Linked DNA regions of Homo sapiens: region 2 is linked to region 1. The links are contacts of gene promoters, found by promoter capture Hi-C in human tissues and cell types (Jung and others, 2019). All regions are on one chromosome and are shown on one strand. The core of a region is centred on a gene start or on the middle of the fragment in contact, and the rest is flanking DNA. Distances in the headings are between cores, read along the strand shown.

Region 1 (5,283 bases), core at 957-3,456:
AGGCTAATTTTGTATTTTTTAGTAAAGACCGAGTTTCTCCATATTGGTCAGGCTGGTCTCGAACTGCCGACCTCAGGGGATCCGCCCACCTCGGTCTTCCAAAGTGTTGGATTACAGGCGTGATCCACCGCGCTTGGCCCTTTATTATTATTATCATTATTTTGAGACAGAGTCTTGCTGTGTCGCCCAGGCTGGAGTGCAGTGGCGCGATCTCAGCTCACTGTAACCTCCACCTTCCAGGTTCAAGGTATTGTCTTGCCTCAGCCTTCTGAGTAGCTGGGACTACAGGTGCCCACCACCATGCCCAGGTAATTTTTTGTATTTTTAGTAGAGACCGGGTTTCACCATGTTGGCCAGGATGGTCTCGATCTCCTGACCTCGTGATCCGCCCGCCTCAGCCTCCCAAAGTGCTGGGATTACAGGCATAAGCCACCGTGCCCAGCCTAATTTTTAGTAGAGATGGGGTTTCACCATGCTGGCCGGGCTGGTCTTGAACTCAACCAGGCATTATTCTAATAGACCTCACAATATCCTCACAAATATCCCAGCAGCCTGGCCTCCCTGCTCCAGTCCCTGCCTCCACAGTCTGCTCCCCACCTGCGGCCGGAGGGAACCTGTGAACCCCTGAGTCAGGTCAGGGCCCTCCTGGCTCAGAGCCCTGCTCTGGTCTCTGACTGCCCCCTCGCCCACTCTGCTCCAACACATTGGGTGGCCTGGTGTGCCCGGGAGGACCTACAGGGTCTGTTCCCTCCATGCTCGCTCTAGACACAATGGGAGAGGCTTGGGTTTTTAAGGGAGGGGACTCAGCCAGGCCTGAACAGTGGTGACCGTGGGCTGAGCTGGGACCTGACCCTCCTCCAGGCTCCAAATCTCCTCTCCTCCCTTCCCCCACAGGCCACTGGGCATCTGCCCTGTGACCAGAATCCAGTTTCCCCTTTTTTCTCCTAAGCCCAGGCCCAAGGAGCGGTGGGTGTGACGTGTGGATGGGGGAGGGGGGCTTCCTGCAGCTGTCTCATCCTCCAGCACCCTAACCTCAGGTTCCTCCTTCCCCAGCCCCAGGCTCCAGCTGGGGGCTAGAAGTCCCCGTCTCCTTGGGGTGGCCTCCCTTGGGCCTTGCTCCCAGCCACTTCCTCATTCAGCAGGAGAGCCAGCCACCTGCCTCTCCCCAAGCCGCCAGCCGTGCCTCTGTGTCTGTGCCACTGCCTTACTCTCACCTTTCTCAGCTTTGCCGCTGTTTTCTCCTTCCCCATCTTTCATCTTTGTTTTTCCCCCTGACTCTTCCCTAGTCAAAAACCTGATTTTGGGTCTTGGGTTCCATTTCCACCTTGATTTGCTGTGCAGCCTTAGGCAAGCGTCTCTACCTCTCTGAACAATGGGGATGATAAGAGCATGTGCCCTAGAAGGGCATTGCGGGGACTGAATGATTTAACGCTTGGGACAGAGTGCCTGCATGTCATTAGTGCCCACATGCTGCTGGCTCTTTTAATATCCTTTAAACAGCACAAGTTTCTGATGATTAAATAATCATCATCATAGCTGATGCTTTTAAAAAGCTGACAAGGGTCAGACCCTGGTCTAGGAACTTTAATTCATTTAATCCCCACAACTCTAAAAAGTAGGTCCCATTTTACTCCCAATTTTACAGATGAAGAAACTGAGGTTGGAGCTGGGTGCGGTGGCTCACACTTGCAATCCTAGCACTTCGGGAGGCCAAGGTGGGTGGATCACCTGAGGTCAGGAGTTTGAGACCAGCTGGCCAACATGGTGAAACCCTGTCTCTACTAAAAAAAAAAGAAAAAAAAATACAAAAAATTAGCCGGGCATGGTGGCAGGCGCCTATAATCCCAGCTACTTGGGAGGCTGAGGCAGGAGAATCACTTGAACCCGGGAGGCAGAGGTTGCAGTGAGCCGAGACCGTGCCATTGCACTCAAGGTTGACCAGCCAGGAAGAGGCAGAGCTGGTTTCAATCAGCCAGAGGAAGGTCATGACACTGACCCTCCTGTTAAAACGATGTCTGACCCCTGACTGGGGACGGAGGTGAAGTTTGTGCTTCACGTACCCTTTGCCCTTCACGTCTAGTTGCTGGGGGCCTGTGGCATGGCCCCTGGGTGTCTGGGCCTGATTCTTTCTTGGGTTTTGTTTCTGTCTCTCCTCCCCTGTCTCCTCCTCCCTTCTGCCACCACCCGCCTCAGACTTCCTCCTTCACTTGCCTGGACGCTGCGCCACATCCCACCGGCCCTTACACTGTGGTGTCCAGCAGCATCCGGCTTCATGGGGGGACTTGAACCCTGCAGCAGGCTCCTGCTCCTGCCTCTCCTGCTGGCTGTAAGTGGTGAGTTAGGGGCTTCCGTGGCTGCCTCCCGGGTCCCTGGGCTCAGCTTGGGGCAGGGCAGGGAGTGGGGTGGAACGAGAGAACCAAAAGTGGGTGTTGGGATGGGAGCAGGTCCCCAACCTCCCAAAGCCTGTGGGTTTCTCCCAGAGCCCAAGCCCCCAAGTTTTGTCGTCCGCTACAAGCAGGGGAGAAGAGACATCTAAGTGTGTTGCCACAGGACAAGTTGTGCAGAAGTAACGCACATAGTCCGGTGGCCCAGACGCCAGCCCCCTGAGTCCCGCCAGACACGCTCTCCCCCTTGCTAACCTCTTGGCTGTCAGGATCCACCTTCCCTGGCTTCTAAACTTGCCTCCCCCACCCCCGTCATAACTCTGTGCCTCAGTTTACCTTCTTTTTCCTCCTCAGGTCTCCGTCCTGTCCAGGCCCAGGCCCAGAGCGGTAGGCCTAGACCCAGCAGTCCCTCTCTCTACCTCCCAGAGACCTCCCTGTCTCCGTCTCTCCCACACCCTTTCCAAACCTCCCTGCCGCTGACCCCCCTCCCCACAGTTCCCAGCACACACTGACCTCCCCTGACCCCTGTGCTGCAGATTGCAGTTGCTCTACGGTGAGCCCGGGCGTGCTGGCAGGGATCGTGATGGGAGACCTGGTGCTGACAGTGCTCATTGCCCTGGCCGTGTACTTCCTGGGCCGGCTGGTCCCTCGGGGGCGAGGGGCTGCGGAGGGTGAGTGGGGCTAGCAGGGGACATCCTGAGGACTTGCCTAGATGGGGGTGGGGGGCTGGGTAAACTCCCAGATCTCAAACATCCAAAGGGATGGTAATGGAGGTGCTGATTTGGAATGACAAAACACCCTCAACTCACCACTCTGCCTGTCTCTGCACCCCACAACACCCCTCACCTCCAGCAGCGACCCGGAAACAGCGTATCACTGAGACCGAGTCGCCTTATCAGGTGAGAAAACCAGACTGTCCTCCTCACATTTCACTCCTGCCAGGGATATCTGCCCCAGATACTCCTTCATGCCATCAGAGGGACCTCAAAGCCACTCTGCCTAAAGCACCCCCAAACCTTGAAGGCACATGGGACATCTGTCCAAAACTGGGCCGAATGATCAACCACAAGCTTATGGTCAGCTTAAAATGTGTGAAGAGGGGCTGGGCACGGTGACTCAAACCTGTAATCCCAGCACTTTGGGAGACAGAGGCGGGTGGATCACTTGAGGTCAGGAGTTCGAGACCAACATGGTGAAACCCTGTCTCTACTAAAAATACAAAATTAGCTGGGCGTGGTAACGCATGCCTGTAATCCCAGCTACTTGGGAGGCTGAGGCAGGAGAATCCTTTGACCCAGGAGGCGGAGGTTGCAGTGAGCCAAGATCACGCAATTGCACTCCAGCCTGGGCAACAAGAGGAAAACTCTGTCAAAAAAAAAAAAGCGTGAAGAGTTAAAAAGAAAAAAAAAAGGGTGGCTTTGCCTTTGTAAGTGTAAACACAGGCCTTGCCAGAAGTCAGGCCAGGAATTTTCTGGAAGAAACCCAGCCCTAGGACGACTGATTTCTGGGAGACGCTCTCAGTAGGGCAGAGAATGTCATTCAGCCCTACCTTGGTAACTCTAAAGAGAGGAGTCCTAGAATCTCTTTTTTGGGTTTGAGGACCCTTCATCCCTTTGAGAAACTAAGAAAATCTAGACTCCCAGAAAAATCTACACAAAAAATACAAAATTGTGCATATAATCTGAGAGCAGTGTAAATGTTCTTTATAATTAAAAAAAATTTTTTTTTGGCCAGGCATGGTGGCACACACCTGTAATCCCAGCACTTTGGGAGGCCAAGGTGGGTGGATCACGAGGTCAGGAGTTCAAGACCAGCCAGGCCAGGATGGTGAAACCCCATCTCTACTAAAAATACAAAAATTAGCTGGGCATGGTGTCATGCGCCTGTAATTCCAGCTTCTCAGGAGGCTGAGGCAAGAGAATCGCTTGAACCCAGGGGGCGGAGGTTGCAGTGAGCCTGGGCGACAGAGTGAGACTCCATCTCAAAAAAAAAAAAAAGACAGGGGTCTCACTATGTTGCCCCAGCTGGTCTCAAACTCCCAGTCTCAAGTGATCCTCCCGCCTCAGCCTCCGAAAATCTTGGGATTACAGGCTCAAGCAACCATGCTGGTTGAGTATTCTTGAAGCTCTTTTTTCTTTCTCTACTTTAATTTTTTTTTTTTTTTGAGATGGAGTCTCATTCTGTCACCCAGGCTGGAGTGCAATGGTGTGGTCTCAGCTCACTGCAACCTCCACCTCCCAGGTTCAAGCGATTCTCTTGCCTGAGCCTCCCGAGTAGCTGGAACTACAGGTGCATGCCACCACACCCGGCTAATTTTTGTATTTTTAGTAGAGATGGGGTTTCACTATGTTGGCCAGGCTGGTCTCAATCTCCTGACCTCGTGATCCGCCCACCTTTCCCTCCCAAAGTGCTGGGATTAGAGGTGTGAGCCACCGCGCCCGGCCTTAATTTTTTTTTTTTTTTTAAAGTAGAGATAGGTTCTCACTATGTTGCCCAGGCTGGTCTCAAACTCCTGGGCTCAAGAGATCCTGTTACCTCGGTCTCCCAAAGTGCTGGGATTATAGGCATGAGTCACCATGCCTGGCTGAAGCTCTTTTTAAAAACTATAGAGTATACAAGAGAATCTAGTCATCTATCCCCCTCTCTGTCAATGTTCCTTTTTAACCCTTTAGGGGGTCATGAGATTCTCTAAGACCTCTCCCCTGAAGAATGCACGCCCAGACTAGTCATCATATATGATTTTAGGGTTTCTGTCTGAGGCCTGCCCCTGGGGGCCACATAGATCCTCCCCCTACCCCAAGTGTGAACACTGCTGTGTGAAGTCTGATATATTGTCTGCAACCAGCTTTGCCTATTCACCTCACTTGTGGATAAAGTTTCTTTGTGAAGTCTAAGAATC
Region 2 (5,539 bases), core at 2,782-5,281, 130 kb after region 1:
AGCCGGGCGTGGTGGCACATGCCTGTAATCCCAGCTACTCAGGAGGCTGAGGCAAAAGAATCACTTGAACCTGGGAGGCAGGGGTTGTGGTGGGCGAGATCATGCCACTGCACTCCAGCCTGGGCAACAAGAGTAAAACTCCATCTCAAGAAAAGAAAAAAAACCCCTCTGGTTTAAGCCACTCATAGCCAGGTGTTCTGTGAGTTACAGCCCAACCCATTTCTAACTGATATACATTTAAACCCTTGTATCCTTAAAGCCGAACACCTGCTAACACACACACGTGCACACACACACATGCTCACACACATTCTCTCACAGGCATGCGCCCACACAGACACTAAAATATCAACGCCTCCTCCACTCTGGCTCCTTTCTTTTCTATGCCCACACACACACCGAGGCTGCTTCTCGCCCCTCAGACACCCCCTCACCCACTCGGAATCTCCAAGCCCCCTGCCCAGGCCCACCTCCATCCAGGTGAGCACAGGCCCGCAGTTGAGGTTACTGTCCACCAGTCCTGACAGTGTCTCCAGGTACTGCAGCAGCAGTGGCACCAGCATCTGGGGGCAGGTTGTCAGAGTGGGCCTCTGTGAGTGGACGTGAGAGAGCCCACTGCCCTCCCACACTGCCCTAGCTCGTCTCTGGGCTGAAGTTCATCCTGAACACATGGGTGCTGCTCAGCTGTTAGGTACTGAGATATGGGCATATGAATGAATAAGCAGGCTGGGCCAAGCTCTTGAGTACCCTGGTTGGCATGACCATGGTGACCCTCCCATGGGACCCCCTGGAACTCCCCATGATCCTAAAACTTAGCAAAGCTAAATGTAGCAGAAGCCTACTACGTTTCTAAGGCTTCTCCATTCATTCAGATTGGTTGGGACTTGGGCCATACCAGTATTTAAATATTTCTCTATCCCGCTGCCTTGATGATTTCACACTGTGGATGAGGACACACTCATGAGGCAGGGGCTGAGACAACAAGCAGGTTACCTGGGCAGCCCTGGCACCCTCGGGGGGCGGGGGAAGCTCCGGAAGGCAGGAGAACCTCCGGTCAAATATGCACCGGTGGAGGTGGGCATCCAGGGAACGAAAGTCATCGTAACTCCGGAGAACCGGCCAGGAACGGCCCTGTGGGAGCAGAGGGACAGAAGGGAGCAGGGGCCCCATGACACCGAGCTGAGGACTACAGTGGCCATTCTCTCAGGCTAGATGAGAGGCGGGATGGCCTCACCTGACAGGTCACCTGCACCCCGAACACCAGCTCATTCTCTCCAGAGAGGCTGGGCCCTTCACGGTCTGGAGACAGCAGGAGCTGCAGAGGGAAAGCAAGGCCCAGGTGGACTTTTGTCCCAGTCCTGACCTCCTGGGGATGGCACTATCTAGGGACGGGTTTGTGACTCCCTTCTGGACCTCCCCGAGGACAGGGCCTGGTGATGTCCTGGTCCCTGACATAGAGCAGATACCTAACAAAAGTTGTTGTTGAATGAATAAAAGAACAAATGGATGAATGAATGAGCAGCTCTCCCCATCTGCTGTGGCTCCTGCAACTTTTGCTACTGACTGCTCAGACGCGTGCAGCAGCCAGTCACAGGGATAAGTTTCAGAAGCAAAGCACCTGATATCGTTGCAAGGTTGGGTAGGATATTGTCTTCCCTCCTGGGTGCAAATGCAAAGCCCCCATACCTGAATGTGGCCAAAGTCAACGTTCTCGTAGTGGAAATGGGCGCAGTCAGCCAGCCGCGGGAAGGGGCCTCGAGGAGCTGAGAGCCTGGGAGACAGGGGATGCGTCACCAGCAGCTCCTTGAGTCTCCCCAGCTCCTAGCTGAGCCCTTTCCTCCCTCACCCTCACCTCTTCCCAGGCTTCCCCTTCACACTGGGCCCCCCAGCAGTGGGTAGAGGCTGCACCGAGCCCTCCCCTGGGCCATCCAGGCTGTCAGTGCTGCGTGCCTGTAGAGCAGAAAGAATCAGAGGCCCCCAGAGATGGGAGCAAAGAGACAACGAGAGCATTGTTATCTGGCAGCGCGGGTCCAGAGCCCCGGGCGCTCCACACACCGCCCTGAGCATGAAGCAGGATGGCAGGTCGGGGGAGGTGAGGGCTGGGCTGAGGACAGGACTGCTTCTTCGTGTGTGGTCTGGGGTGGGGGACTGGAGAAGCAGGGGCCAGACGTGAGGCGGGGCAACAGGATGGAGAGCATGCTGGTCCCATCTCTCCCTGCTGAAAACCCTTCCGTAGCCCCTGCAGAGTACAGTGATCTCCTACCACTGTCTAGACAATCACAACTCCCATCTCATCAGCCTTCCTGCTTCCAGCCTCTCCCCTCCTGCCAGCTTTTCCGCAATAGCCTGGATCGTTTTCAGAAAACACAAATCTGGCTCTATTTCTCCATAGATCCTGGGCCTTCAATGACTCCCTGTTGTCTTCAAGACGAAGTCTGAATTCTCTGGTCTGATAATCGAGACTTCCCTGAGCTGATTTCTGTTTACCTCTCCAGTCCCATCTCTTCCCATTGCCCCCACTCTCAGAGCTCTTGAACTTCTAAGAGTCCAAAAAAAGCACCCTCTTCTCATTTCCTTCTAGGCCTTTGCAAAGGCTGTTCCCTCAGCCTGGAACACTCGCCCCACCTTTCCCTGGGTACATTCATCCTCACTCCCACCCCTCAGGTCCCAACTCACATGTGCCCTCCTCCAGGAAGTTCTCCCTGACCCTTCAGGCTGCACCTGGCATCTCCTCTGGACTCTCTCCATCCCCTGAGGTTCCCCCATCCCAGGTTCCATGCCTTGACCAGAGCTTCTCCCTTCACAGCTCTGATCACTCTGAGATGGCACTGGTGGTGACAAGTTCATCTCTCTCATTGGACTATGACCGGCCTCCCAGAAGGAGGGCCCCAGACTGAGCTCCCCAGCATAGAGCTGGGCATTGAGTTGGTGTTCAGACATGATTGTTCCTGATTCTTTTCTGGGTCCCCAGTGCCAGCCCAGTCGCGCGCAGCAGGGACTGGGTAAAATCTGATGAATAAATTAACCAGCTGCCAGACAGATTCACTGGGCTGTAGCGTCTCCCTGCTCCATGTCCCTGCAACCCCCAGTCACCCTCAGGGTCTCACCCTCAGGGTCTGTCCCCCTCCAGCCCATAAGGTTCCCCAAGGCAGGATGGGAGCTGACTCTCTCTGTGCCTGGAGCGTGGGGCCTGCACAGAGGCGGTCTCAGTGAATGTCTGCTAAGTGAGGGAATGAATGGATGAATGAGCGGGAGCAGCATGGTGGGAGAGGGAAATGGTGGGGGAGGGGGATGAGGACAAGGAGATGGAGCAGACCCGAGGATCAAGGGAGGTACAGTGCTGGCCTGTTGGGGTGGAGTAAGGAAGGAGTGGCTGGAGAGACGAGGCAAAGGCTCAGACTGATGCGGGGCGGGGGGGATTGAGAGGAACTGGGATAGGGTGAAAATGAGGGAGAAGGAGAAGAAAAGGGTCAGGCTGGGGATGGAGCGGGTGGGGGGTGGGGCTCGGGAATGAGAAAGGGGCTGTGGGGAGGAGGAGGGGGCTCCGCCGGGGAGGGCTGAGGGCTGGCAGAAGGATGCCGAGGAAGGTGCTGGGATGGGAGCTGGGGAAGGACCCAGGAGCCTCAGGAGGCCCCTGCAGGGGCCACTTGGGTGGCGCGGGTCCCTTCCTGGACTAGCCCCGCCTCCTCCCAGCCCAGGCCCTAGGTCCCTGTCACCCCATCCAGGGCGTGGAAGACGGGGATGCGCGCTTAGGGGGCGGGGTCGAGGTACGGGCTGGGACCCGGGATGGGGCCGCAGGACGGGAGGGACCACGGCTGAAGCACAGGCCGCGGGATCGGGCGGGGCCGGGGGCGGGGCGCGCGGGGCGGGGCTGCGCACGGACAGACTGACATCCGGACGGACAGGCTGACGGCCGCGTGGGACCCTTACCACCATGGTCGCGTAGCCTCCTCAGGCCCCGGCCGCGCTCGACCCCTCGCTCGCCGTTCTCGTCGCCGCTGCCGCCGCCATGGCGACACAAAGGGGAGGGCGCGAGCCGCGCGCGGGCGGCTGCAGACCCCGCCCCTAACGGCTGCCCGTGGCTCCGGCGCGCGCCCCACGGGGGCGGGGGGCAGCGGGAACGCGGCGCTGCTTCTCATTGGCTCCGCCCTTGGCCTTAGGCCGATGCCCCGCCCACCCGGAGGCTTCTCATTGGTTTCACCTTGGGCTCCGCCCCGGCTCTGTGTCCTCGGTCCCGCCCCTCGAAGTTTGACAGCGCCACGCCCATGACTGCTTTTCATTGGCTGTCATCGCCCTCCTGAGACAAGCCCCCAGGTTCTTTATGCTTTGCTTCCGACACTTCCAACACCAAGCAATGGACCCTACCTTTCGTCCACTCCCAGTGTCCATTCTTCTGACTTTTTTATTTTTATTTCTTTAAGAGACAGGGTCTCACTCTGTCGCCCAGGCTGGAGCGCAGTCCTGCAATCGTGGCTTACTGCAGCCTCAACCTCCTGGGCTCAAGCGATACCTCCCATGTAGCTGGGACTACAGGCGTGCGCTACCACGCCTGGCTAATTTTTTTTAGACATGGGGGTCTCACTATGTTACCCAGGATGGTCTTGATCTCTGGGGCTCAAGAGATACTCCCTCCTCAGCCTCCTTTCAAAGCGCTGGGATGACAGGCGTGAGCCACCACGCCAGCCAGCCCCTGATAGTCTTAATTGGATTCTCCCACGGCCTCAGAGCAGTGCCCAGTTCCTTAAGCAGCTTTTCAAAGTCCCAGTCCCAAGTCTCACCTTTTCAGTCCTGATCCCGACCCCGCTCACATAATGCCGAGGACGCTCCGCCCATGGACGTTTCTCGTTGCCTCATATACCTTGCCTAGGACGTAACCCGAGGCTTTCTGCGATTTGGCCTCCCCTGCCCACTGGACATTTTCTTGTTTCCCCTTCTACTGCTTATTACGGGCCAATCTCCAGCCTTGATTTTTTTTTTCTAGGAAAATGCTTAGGGGGAAATGCCAGATCATGCTTATGCCCCCCATAAAGCCATTCCCAATGGAGCCTGCTAATACTGAGCATGCCCAGATAACACTGTAATAACGCCCTTCACAGGAGGGTCTCTCCTTAGTCATGCCCTCAACAAATTCTCATCTCAGAGGGTCTTGGTCTGTTCATTCATTCATTCATTCATTCATTCACTCAAACTCTAATCAATTTGTACATACATCAACAACCAAACCAGGAGAAAATATACCCTGCCCACATTGGAGCTCAAAAGCTACTGGGAGAAGACAATGAACAAAATTAACATTAAACAAAATATAGAATATTAGGCCAGGCGTGGTGGCTCACGCCTGTAATCCCAACACTTTGGGAGGCCGAGGCGGGCAGATCACTTGAGGTCAGGAGTTCGACACCAGCATGGCCAGCATGGAGAAACCCCGTCTCTACTAAAAATACAAAAATTAGCCAGGTGTGGCGGCGGGCGTGCCTGTAATCCCAGCTACCTGGGAGGCTGAGGCAAGACAATGGGTTGAACCCAGGTGGCAGAGTTT

The links. The method cuts DNA at HindIII sites, captures the fragments that hold promoters and counts their contacts. A contact is called where the count stands out against the background at its distance.
Region 2: the fragment with the promoter of ARHGAP33 here is called in contact with the fragment with the promoter of TYROBP in region 1 in 1 of the 25 tissues and cell types used here (adrenal gland).

What each region holds. Positions count from the first base shown.
Region 1 is chr19:35,905,218-35,910,500 of GRCh38, reverse strand. TYROBP (transmembrane immune signaling adaptor TYROBP) reads left to right here and starts at 2,206. Exons shown (of 5, transcript NM_003332.4): 1 at 2,206-2,333; 2 at 2,739-2,771; 3 at 2,921-3,055; 4 at 3,237-3,283. The coding sequence starts at 2,273. RefSeq lists enhancers at 690-799, 900-949, 1,100-1,229 and a silencer at 3,041-3,194. The HindIII fragment of the contact is 6,909 bases long and covers 1-4,932 here.
Region 2 is chr19:35,774,056-35,779,594 of GRCh38, reverse strand. It overlaps ARHGAP33 (Rho GTPase activating protein 33), which reads right to left and starts at 4,031. Exons shown (of 21, transcript NM_001366178.1): 1 at 3,931-4,031; 2 at 1,853-1,950; 3 at 1,687-1,771; 4 at 1,235-1,315; 5 at 994-1,131; 6 at 471-563. The coding sequence starts at 3,936. RefSeq lists enhancers at 688-1,572, 1,573-2,458, 4,480-4,539 and a silencer at 3,770-4,249. The HindIII fragment of the contact is 39,613 bases long and covers 1-5,539 here.